Regions from separate parts of the Homo sapiens genome. Here all the other regions are linked to region 1. Evidence: promoter capture Hi-C in 16 types of primary human blood cells and fetal thymus (Javierre and others, 2016). All regions are on one chromosome and are shown on one strand. The core of a region is centred on a gene start or on the middle of the fragment in contact, and the rest is flanking DNA. Distances in the headings are between cores, read along the strand shown.

Region 1 (2,764 bases), core at 118-2,617:
TCTGCCTTTCTCATCCTAAACAGCTGAATCATTCACATATTCAACAGCCCAGAATTCTTCCGGGCTGTCAGTGCGGGCTCTGCTTTTTGAGAGGTTGGAATTTAAAATCCTCCTTAGGAGAGCACGGAAGAATTACAGGAAATTAAAGGGATTCCCAAAGGACGCCTGACTTAAACAGCAGCAGCGTTACCGTTAATCAAACAGGAGGCTCTGGCTATCAATCAATCTCCGGAGAAGGAAAAATACTATGCTGAGAAAATATATTCGTTCATTAGTCAAGTATTTACTAAAGGTGTACTCGGCGCAAGGCCCCTGGAGAGAGGCCAACAAGCACACCAGCTCTGGATCCCTCGCCGGACCGCCCCCTCCCCGGCGGGGCCCACCTGCAGGCGGGACGCCCCCAGGTGCGCGTTCCAGGCGCCGGGGGCGGCCCCCGCACCCACCCCTCCGGCTCCACCCCGGCGCGCCTCACCCGGACCGGTCTCAGGAGCGATACGGGCTTCAGCGTGGCGAAATGCACCAATACGACTCGCTACGCACTGAGAAGGGGGCCCCACGCGCGCCCCGAGCTACCGCGCCCGCGGGCCTCAGGGAGCCGCTGACCTTCTAGGTCGTGGGACCCCCGCACCAACCCGGGCCAGGGCGAGGGGGGCGATCTGGGGTCTCCAGAGGGCGCGTGAGGCTGACAGCCCCCCCCCCAGAGTGTTCTAGGGGCTTCGTGGGGCGCTTGGGGAGCTCTGGGGGTCCTAGGGGTTCTCTGAAAGGCGCGTGGGGGCTGAGGGTCCCTGTGAGACTCTGGGGATTCTAAGGGGGCGTGTTAGGGGATCCGGAGAGCGTGTGGGGGCTGAGGAACCCTGGGGAGTTCTGCCGGCCCTAGGGGGTCTCTAAAGTGCGCGTGGGGGCTGAGAGCCCCTGGGAGGATGCGGGGTTTCCAGGGACCCTGGGGGGGCCTGTGGGGTCTCTGGAGGGCGCGTGCGGACTGAGGGCCCCTGGGCGTCCTGGGGGCTCCAGGGGGCGCTGGGGGACCCTACAGGATTTCTGGAGGGCGCCTGCAGGCTGAGGGCCCCTAGACGTGGTCTGAGGGCCCCAGAGGTTGCGTGGGGGACTCGGGGGGTCAGCCTGAAAGGAAGGGGGCCAAGTACGGAGACCCCCCCCCCCCAGGGCACGCACGGTCTGGCGCTCACCCAAACAGCCCTCGGAGGAAGGAGTGGGAGGCCTTGACTCGCTTCTCGGCCTCCGCCATCAGCTGTACTGCCTCACGCTCCTTCCCCGCGTTGTCCATGTCGCCCGCCGCGGCCGCCACAGCCCCCTCAGCCGGCTCGCTGTGCGCCCAGGCGCCTTAACCCTCCCTCTGGCGGCCGCAGGGACGCAGGCGCAGGCGCGACGCGCGAGGCCTTTCGGGAGCTGTAGTCCGGGTCCTGTCATGGCGGCGGGGATTCGCGAGCCGCCTACTACAGTTCCCAGGAGGCCCCGGGGCGGGGTGTGTGTGAGCCGAGCTTGCGCACCGCTAGCTCCCAGGACGTCGGCGCAGGGGGCGTGACCCCCCCAAAGGGGTCCTGGGCCAAGGTGAACTTTAATTTTGTATGTATGCAGAAATGGAAAAATGATCCGTGGCCTCTAGTAAAGATCACCTCCTCAGTAAGACTCGCATGGCAATGGGATGGATGAAGGAACAGGGGATAACAGATTGGATGGAACCCACACCCTTCATGCAAGTTCTGCAAAAGAGAATCTGGTGTAGCCACCAAAGCATCACATGCTTGATACCGCCCACCAAAAAACGAGCAACAGCTGGCAATAAGAGCCATTTTTATCTCCAAGAGCAAGACGTCCCCAATATAAGTTCAGTTATTTTTAAATCTCCCCAAACTGTAACTTTCTGTTGGTCCTCTCTTCCTTGGTTATAAATGAGTTGCATATATGCAATATATGCATAATCCACTCTTTTGTTGACTGAATTATATTCAATGGATGTGAACCATTGAACTCTTATCCTTTACATAATACTGGCCATAGTGGATGGATCTCCAGGGACAAAATGTTTGCCTGCCAGGAAGACTTCTAATCTCCTAGGAGAAGTATCCATAGATAGATGGGATCCTGTGCCAGAGACTTTCAGGCCTGTCCCAGAGGGAGTTATTTTTGAAGACAATGTCTAGACCATTCAAGCTTGGCAGTGCTAAGGCAGAGATGCTGAAACTAATAAGAAAATCACTGCCAAGTGAGATTTATGACAGTTTCAAACTGTTAATAAATACACTCTGGGCACTGGCATGCAAAATTTTAGAAAATGAAGACTGTCTGTAGAGGGCAAGGCAAGAGGGGCCAAACTCCTAGAAAGAAAGTTGACTAAAGCACATGTCACAGAGTTCATACATTTCAGGACTCCGTAGAGATAGAAAGAAATCTCAGCTCTTCGTGCAGTTTATTTACGATTACTACATGCATTATTCTAACTTTGAAAAGCTGAGCTGTGTGTTTTTGGAGAGAGAAGGAGGCGGGAAATTGGAGGTGACCGTAAATGCAGGGGAGACCAGAGAAAAACTGTAAAAAGTGAACATAAGCATTTGGAAAGCAGAGCAGTCTATGGGGGCTTAATGGAGTGAGGCTAAGTCAAAAGCTCCTAAGTAAATCAGTGTGTTGATTAAATCAGTTGTTCCCTAACGTGGTTCGATGCAGAAGCTCTAATGGATATTTAAGAAATACTGATTCCTAGGCCACTGGGTTTTGGTATCAAGGTCTCTTGCAGCTGGGGTCTAGAAAA
Region 2 (2,764 bases), core at 1-2,500, 5.9 Mb before region 1:
GGGTAAGCTCGCGCCGCCGCGTCAGCTCAGCGCTGGGTCTCTCGGTCCCGCAGCCGTGAGGAGGACGGTCTGCATACTCGCTGCCCGCCGGCTCCCTCCCCCGCGTCCCTGCGACCGCCGCGGCGAAGATGGTGAGTAGGAGGGAGGCCGAGGCGTGGGCCGAGGCGGCCGGGAGCAGTGTGTCTCTGGGGCGCCGCGGAGTCGGGGCTAAGGGGGTGAGCCGTGCCTCAGCCCGGGGAGGGACCCGGTCCGGCTGCAGTGTCCGGGCTGCGGGTGAGGGGGGGTCTCTGGGCCTCCGTCTCCCGCCGTCCTGGCTGGGCCCCCGCGCCCCGGGGTGGATCCGCGGCTGTTGCGCAGCTCCCAGCTGGGGCGAGGCCGCCGCCCTGAGCGTGGCCTCTGCGGGTGTCTCCAGACCCGGCCTTGCAACAACTGGCTGGGGTCGAGCGCCCCCACCCGCTCTGTGAAATCCATCCGGGGGTCTGCACACCGAGGCCGGGGAGTGGGGGGCGGGGGGCGTCGGAATCCGGCCACCGTCCTTGTTGGCGTGGGTTTCCCCAGAGCTGGCGCTGAGGCGCTTGGTGACTTGTGCGCGTTCCAGCCCTTGAGGTCTGTCCATCTCAATAAGGAAGATAAAGCCTTTATGGAACAGTCCTAGAGCACGGAATGATCGCTAACGAGCAGGATCCTGGCATGATTTAGAACGGGGTGGCCTTGCAGCTCCTTTGTTTTTTTCTTTTTATCTGGCAATCGGCTTCCAGCAGCACTCTCGTCGTGCTTGTCAAGCTTGGCAGTGTCTGTTTTAACCCTTCCCTGCCCGATCTGTCCGTGTATGGTTAGAATTTTTTTTCTGACCTGTAGACAGTTGGACTCTGCCAGAACTTGGTGCGCAAGGTGTGGGCATGATGCTGGGATGCTGATACAACCAAATTTAAGAGCTTTAAAAACCATTAAAATACTGGAGTCACCAGAAAGTAAACAGGTGCTCATTAGTATATTCTATATGATGGACATTTTGCTTAATTTACATATTTTCCCCCTTTACACTGTCACTCTAATTAGCTATTTAAAAACGTATTCTCAACTGAACTATCAGTTGGAACATTTTGTCGTTTTCGTTAGTGTGCACACACTGTTACCATTTTTGGTCAGTGATTTGCAGGCGTAGCCTTACCAGACTTTGCTAGAAATATTACACTGTAATTGCATCTGTCTAGAAGCAGTTGGTACCAGCTTATCTGCATACAAACTGTTTTCACTGTATAACAGTTTTGGTTTTCTTAAGTTACTACAACTTCCGTGAACATGCAGGCGGCCCCTTAGTGAAAGAAAAGATAAACCGGTAGTTTCTTGATGACTGTAGATATGTATGTAATAGGGATTTGATACTGTTCAGTTTTTGGTTCTTCTTTGGTTTAATGCTGTAAGCTACAAAGTATCAGCATCTTGAGTCTTTTTAATATCTAATTATTAGAAATTTAATAACATTTTAAATGTATATGCTACTTTATACTGAAAGACTTAATCTAGGGGCTTTGAGTTATGGTACGCTTAAGACCATTCACTCTGTGAAAGTGCTTTGAAGCTGACTAGGGTCTGCTCTAGAGACTTCTGATTTGACATTATGCTTTTTTATTGAGTGGCTAATACAGACTTTATTTTTCTGTTTGAAAATAAGAGACCAAACATTTTACCTTTAGTTAAATGCTTAGTTTTAGTTAAAGCTTAACTAAATTCAAGGAAGGAAGGGTCTGTTATATTTCCTGGTTCTTGTGAGGAGTGGGAGAAATAAAAATTAGAAATGAGCGATTTCCAAATACGCTTCAAAATTGTTGGCTTTAGGGAGATCAAGAAGACCTTACAAGTTACTCTTAGAGTTCAGATTATAGACCCCCCATTTTTAAAGGTTATTTTTGTTTTTAGCCTTATGAGCGCAGGAGCATCTTTGTTTAGTTCAGTGATTAGAGAATATTGTGGGTATTATCCCAGAGTCTAGCACTTTGCTTTTAGCTCTTTTGGTTAGATGCTTGGTTCCAAGTTTCTTTTAAGATTAAATTTTAACTACCGATGGGTTTGTTCTAAATTAGCAGAATCACTTCCTTGTACTCACCAAGTCTTTTAGAAGCACCTGAAATAAAGCAGTTTGAAACCAGCTGGGCGCTTCAGGATGAGATTAGATGTTTTCAGATGTCTCCTCCAACAAAAAACAAACAACGTCTGCCTCCACGTGAACCACAATTACAGACCCCAAACAAAACGTGTGTGTGTGTGTACTGGGTGTGCCAGCCTCCTTATACAGAGATTGTTTAGTAGCCCATCATCAAGTTACTAAGGTTATTTGCTCAGTAGTTCTACTGGATATGGATTGAGACATCACACCTAGACTTGCCTAGCTCCTCTTGTAACCAGAGTATCTTTTATGCTTCTTGGAAAGTAAGAGTGTAGTCTTGCCCCTGAAGTAGAGTTAAAAGGTTTGCACGATAATCTAACCCTTAACCTTATCCTAATCTGGACTGTGGTCTCACAGACTGAACTAATTGGCGCAGTATTCAAGTATTCTAATACTTGGTGATTAGCAAAAACACTACAACCCAGTGAAATAGGTTGGGCATGTATTCACATGCCTATTTAACATATGAGAAAACAGATTGTAAAGGATTAATTGACTTGAGACAAATCACCTTTTCCAACTCCAAGTTTTAAAATAATAATTTTGAAACATTTTAAGCAGAAAAGTACACAGAATAACAGATCCTTTTGTACAGGA
Region 3 (2,764 bases), core at 90-2,589, 5.7 Mb before region 1:
TCTTTGTTACAAGTCACCATTTTGATGCTGAGGGCATTGGGTAAAAAATCTCTCCAGGAAAGGGCCACTATCTGTGTGGCCCCCCTCCCACTCCTTTTTCTTGGAATGCAGTTTACAATGCACACAAAGAGGCGGGACTAATGCTTTCTCAGGGTGAGATCTTATCAGGTGAAGTGTATCAACTGCCACTAGTCAACTGGTTTTGACCTACAGAATGGGCAATTTCATGTGGTTCAACATATTACCACATGATCAAGAGGAACAGGGACATGAATGTTTACAGAATACCAGCTGCCTCTACATCAGCACTGTCTAGAACTTTCTGTGATGGTGGAAACCATCTACAGCCACGCTGACCAACTTATGACTACTGAGCACCTGAAATGTGGCTAATTTGACTCAGAAATTGAATTTTTAATTTTACTTAATTTGAATTGTTTTAAACTTAAATTGCTACTTGTGGCTACTGTATTGGACAACACAGTTCTAGACAGTAGCTTTTTCAGGCAAGAACTAGGTCTCACTTGCGGTGTTTGAAGGCCCACCACACAGGAGACCCTCGGTGAAAAAAATGAAATGAAAAATACCTTCAGCACTGCCAGATTTTCAAAATGCCTCCCCACCTTCCTGCCACTGAAGCTCTTAATTTTGATCTTCACGTTCTGTGTCCTCCCTTGGGTAATTATTGCCCCAGGAAGGTGGAGGTATATAGCCAGGAGGGAACATTTGGAAGGCCGGGCCCACATCGCCTAGCAACTGGGCAACAGGAACTGGCCTGACAACCTTCTGACCAGCTGGACCTCCACATTCTCATCCACTGAATGGGTGACAACCATTCCCACCCCCTAGAACAGGGTTATTTTAAGGCCTAAATGTAAACCACAGTTGTGGAATCTGATTCTAAAAAGTGAACCTTAAAAACCAAGTTGGGCTAAGCTTCATTTATCCAATGAGACAGCTGGGAATAGTTTAACAGGTATGGGGGCGCTGTCCGCCTGGTATAACCAATATTTATGATGTTATAGGCCAGGCCTTAACCACTGCAGGCCCAGCATGCACAGACGGACAGCACAGTCCCTGCCTTCATCATTCTGACTTGACCATTATTTTTGTTTCTCCTGAAACAAGATTTTAGCAAAGAAAAACTTGCTGTCTCAACAGAACTGTTGATCCTCTATGTGTCATTCATCTATTAGTTAAAATTCCCAGGGCTAAAAAGACAAGAAGAGTCTGGGGTCCCGACACTTTTAAAAGGTGTCCCTGCTACATAATAAATCAATACTCCAATTCAATCACTGGCATTCAACCATTTAAACTGAGTTTGCTGCTATGTAATTATTGCAGCCTGTTGAGTTAGGGCTCATTTCATTAAAGAGCATAATTGCTCAAATGTGACTTGATTTAAGATTTATTTAAAACTCTTCCATCACCAAAAAATACTCATATACCATGAACCACTGTAACTTCTTAATCTCTCTGTAAATGTTCAGAGGCAGATTCCTAAGTATGAAAGGTGAGAGTTGTTATAGTGCCTAGAGCTCTAAACCCTCTCCTAAACCCCAAGATCCCTTTCTGGTTTCCCCTCCCCCAACCTTAGCCTCCTCCAGGCCTCCACTGGCCCAAGATCCCTGCAAGCCGGCTTTGCGGTGCTCCATGTAAAAGGAAAACTTCACCTACTAGGAGGTCTGCCCCGGCCTTTGCTTCAACAGAGAGGGAAATGGCACCTCCAGGACCTCAGAACCGGAAGCTTCTTTCTGGAAGGGAAAGAGGTTGGCATATGATAGTGGGAGTGACCTTTGGCAAGTTCGTAAACGAGTCAAGACATCACACAGTAAGTGACATGCTGCAGGGTCACAGATTTCTCTAGGTGTCGGATTAACAGGAAGTTAAATCAAACAAGGAGTGTGAGGAGGGAGGCGGGGCAGTGGGAGAATGCCCCCCAGCTGCACAGGGCGGGGTAACATTCGCAGTTGTTCTTCCTGGGAGTGCCAGACAGACGTCCTGGGTCTCTGGGGACACCCAGTTCTGAAGAGGTATCTAATGTGAGATATGAGGCCCTACCAGGCCCATTTCTCCAAATTCCTGAAAATGCCATCCAGATGGCCCCTACCCTGAAGGTTCCAGCACGCAGAGTGAATAGCTGAGCAGTGACGTGGGAGGCTCCTCAGGTCCCTCAGAGTTTCATTTCCTTGGTGCTTCCCAGTCTCTCCTAACCTCTGACCTCTCAGAGTAATTGCCAAATTGCCTTCTGTTTGTACAAGGTCCCAGCACTTCCCGGCGTGGTTCCCGACCCTGTGAGTGGGTGGTGCTGTCTTCAGGCCACAGATAAGAAACTAGGATTCAGAGGGGCTATGGGACCTGCGAGTAGGCGGCCAGTACGTGGTCCGGGGTGTAGAACCCCGGCTGTGCAACTTCTGCAGCCCCGCGCCCGCCGCAGTGCCGGAGCCAGGCCCCACCTTCCTCCCGTGTCCAGCACCCCCCAACAAAAGCATCCCAACTGAACAGCCAACACTTGTGGCTCCTTCCTACAAGTGCTGGGTCTCCACAGCTTTCCTCGCAAATCGAAGCTAACAGGAGCCCCGATTTGCAGACCAGGAAATGGAGACCCCGAACGAAACAACTTGGTCGGGGTCACCCTCGCCAGCCGGGGCACTCTAGAGCTAAAACTCGCGACTTATCATTCGGAGAGGGGTCCCTGAAGCACTGCGGGCGCCCCACTGGAAGCGCAGACCCCGGCCTGCCTCCCCTAATCAGGGCGCAGCGG
Region 4 (2,764 bases), core at 99-2,598, 5.5 Mb before region 1:
GTCTTGAGAAAAAGAATTCTAAACAAAATAAATACAAGAATTCAAAACAAAATTCATGAAAGATATAGGAAGGGTGAGGGAAGAAGTCCAACATTTTATCACCCACCAGCTACCAAGTATCTAACAGCACAATGTCCTAGCTCTGCGGTGCTCTTGAAAGAAAAAGTGAAAACCCTGACAAGGGAGCCATCTGGATTTGTATTCCTCACCATTTACCATGACTAGAATGCTTAGGAGTGTGCCCTTCAGAAACTGAGCTTTTCAGGCAGAAAATTAGTTTTCTCTCCAGACCATATAGGAATGCCTAAAAAAGTTATGCCAAAATGTAAAAAGAAGAGTCAAGCCAAGGACCCCCATTTTTAAACTTAAGTGTTGGCTGCCCCTCAAACTGCAACTTACTCCTCCTGGGGTACTATGGTTTGCCTTTAGGCAGCATGTGAAGGTGTGAAGATCTCTTTTAGGAGATCTTGTCAGAGTACCTCAATGGCCAATCAGAAAACAGGTATTAAGGGTGAAGAAGCCACTTTTTGGAAAGTTAGATCATGCAGAGAAACTTAATTTACACTTTAATAGCCGTTTCTCACTATTGGGATCATTAAAAGTTAGACTGTTTCCTTAAATACTATTTAACTTCACTACACACTGTTGTGACCACGGGCTATTTAAGACATTCAGGGTACTAACCTATAGATCTGTTCTCACCTAATTTGCTCGAGCATCAAGACCCTGATAATAAAGACAGAAAAATGCTGAAACAGCAGAATTTTAAACCAAGTTCCCCTCTGCAGCACAAGAAACTCAGGTAAGTTTCCAGTGTCCAAAGCCTACACTCACAAACACAAACACGAAGCCCTCCCTTTGCAACCCTCAAGTACCCAGAACCTGCTGAAGAAAACCATCTTTCACCACCTTTTGTTAAGGTTCCTCAGTATTAGTGGAAAAGCTTTATTCTCACAAAGATATCCAACAATGCTAATTTTTACATGGCATGTTATTTCCTTAGGCAAGATTAATAGAAAACCTGAAAAATTCGCAACAAGCACACAAAGACTAGCTTCTGTAACACAACCTGACCCCACCCATATCACACCATTTTAGAAGGAAGTCCGTTTAAACCAGTGATTCTCAAACAGGCAATTTTGACTTCTTATCACCATGGGAGGGGAGGAGGCCGCGTCCTAGCAGAGGCCAAAAACAGTTGCTTCACATCCTACAACCCAGAGGGCACTCCTCAACAAAAGTGATCAGGCTAAAATGTCAACAGTGCTCCCCAGGTTGAGAAACTGAATTTTAAACTCAACCTCTAGTTTAGATGACCACTAGGTCTCACCGAATGAGGAGTTTACAGCTCAGAAACAAATCTAGAAAACTTAACAGCCTTGGCCAAGCACAATGGCTCATGCCTGTAATCCCGGCATGTTGAACTGGATGGTGAAACCCCATCTCTACCAAAAAATACAAAAATTAGGTGGGCATGCTGGTGTGTGCCTGTAGCCCCAGCTACTCAGGAGGCTGAGGTGGGGGTGATCACCTGAGCTCCCCAGGTCGAGGCTGCAGTGAGTTGTGATCGTGACACTGCACTCCCGCCTGGGTGACAGAGCCAGACCCTGTCTCAAAAAAAAAAAAAAAAAAGCCTCTTGGCCATTTCTACCTATGGCCAAAATAATGTGAACAGATAATGACCTTTTAGAGTATTCACAAATGGGGATCTTAAGACACCGAGTACAAGTTACTGAACTAGAACTAAGGCGTGGGAAGCTTGATACGTCATACTTCCTCAACTTAGAAAATAGTTGCAAGGGTAGCATAAAGCTTCAGTCCACAAAGTTTGTAAGTTTGGACTTGCTATGGTATTGGTCAAAGTTCAGGATTGTTCCTATACTAACCAACTGCACTCCATTCTAGCTAATGGAGAACAAAAATACCCCTAGAGGCAGCTTCCACACCAGTTAAACACGAAACCAGAGCAGCAGTACTTAGTCTACAAACACTCCTGAGTAGGTAAGAGGACAGATATCATTCACCAAAGTCCCTGTAACCAAGCAGTAAGTTAAGGCCAAGTTGTTACTGTCAAGGAAGGAGAACCCCCTAGTTAAAAATAGCACTAGGCTGCGAAGGTCGAGTTCAAATACCAGCCTGGCCAACATGGTGAAACCCGGTCTCCACAAAAATACAAAAATTAGCCGGGCATGGCGGTGAGCGACTGTAATCCCAGCTACTTGAGAGGCTGAGGCAGGAGAATCGCTTGAACCCAGAAAGCGGAAGTTGCAGTGAGCTGAGATCGAGCCATTGCGCTCCAGCCTGGACGACAGAGCGAGACTCCGTCTCAAAAAAAAAAAAAAAATCAAAAACCAGTAAATAGAGGACCAGTTAGGAACCAAATTAACCATGCATCTCTTCCCCTGAACTATTTTCTGAGGAAGAAGGCAAACCCCAACACCCTCGGCTAAAGAATGTAACAAAATGCCAGTGTCTGGCTACCAGACACGACTGACACAGTATTCCCTTTCAGTTTTGCTGAATTGGCCAAAATGAGTATTGGGCTAGAATTCAAAATCCTGAAGAATCAAGTATGTCCCCCTACCTTAGTGAGTCTTAATTAACTCCATCCTTAGGGAGAATTCCAAACCAAAGTAAATTATCAGGAGGGCATTTAAACAATTTAAGTAACACACATTTCAGGTAACACACAAAACATTTCAGTTGACTACCGAAATTGTATTATGGCAAAAAGTTGCCCAAGACTTAGTTTCCCATTATTTCA

What was found. The method cuts DNA at HindIII sites, captures the fragments that hold promoters and counts their contacts. A CHiCAGO score of 5 or more calls a contact.
Region 2: a fragment that was not itself captured here is called in contact with the fragment with the promoter of NAPB in region 1 in 1 of 17 cell types (total CD4 T cells); the score reaches 6.5 in total CD4 T cells.
Region 3: a contact is called between a fragment that was not itself captured here and the fragment with the promoter of NAPB in region 1, in 3 of 17 cell types (activated CD4 T cells, naive CD4 T cells and non-activated CD4 T cells). The highest score is 6.8, in activated CD4 T cells.
Region 4: a contact is called between a fragment that was not itself captured here and the fragment with the promoter of NAPB in region 1, in 1 of 17 cell types (activated CD4 T cells). The highest score is 11.1, in activated CD4 T cells.

Annotation. Positions count from the first base shown.
Region 1 is chr20:23,420,121-23,422,884 of GRCh38, forward strand. NAPB (NSF attachment protein beta) reads right to left here and starts at 1,368. Exons shown (of 11, transcript NM_022080.3): 1 at 1,185-1,368. The coding sequence starts at 1,282. RefSeq lists silencers at 357-586, 1,217-1,306 and an enhancer at 1,557-1,746. The HindIII fragment of the contact is 2,788 bases long and covers 1-2,167 here.
Region 2 is chr20:17,570,081-17,572,844 of GRCh38, forward strand. DSTN (destrin, actin depolymerizing factor) reads left to right here. Exons shown (of 4, transcript NM_006870.4): 1 at 1-131. The coding sequence starts at 129. Among named protein-coding and RNA genes, the nearest start is that of DSTN, 1.4 kb to the left of the region's middle. RefSeq lists silencers at 1-125, 146-435. The HindIII fragment of the contact is 938 bases long and covers 782-1,719 here.
Region 3 is chr20:17,678,322-17,681,085 of GRCh38, forward strand. It overlaps RRBP1 (ribosome binding protein 1), which reads right to left. Exons shown (of 25, transcript NM_001365613.2): 2 at 1,678-1,754. Among named protein-coding and RNA genes, the nearest start is that of RRBP1, 2.5 kb to the right of the region's middle. RefSeq lists enhancers at 1,215-2,414, 2,606-2,764. The HindIII fragment of the contact is 811 bases long and covers 935-1,745 here.
Region 4 is chr20:17,964,057-17,966,820 of GRCh38, forward strand. The region is part of intron 1 of SNX5 (sorting nexin 5); the gene reads right to left. Among named protein-coding and RNA genes, the nearest start is that of SNORD17, 2.5 kb to the left of the region's middle. RefSeq lists an enhancer at 2,154-2,233. The HindIII fragment of the contact is 815 bases long and covers 942-1,756 here.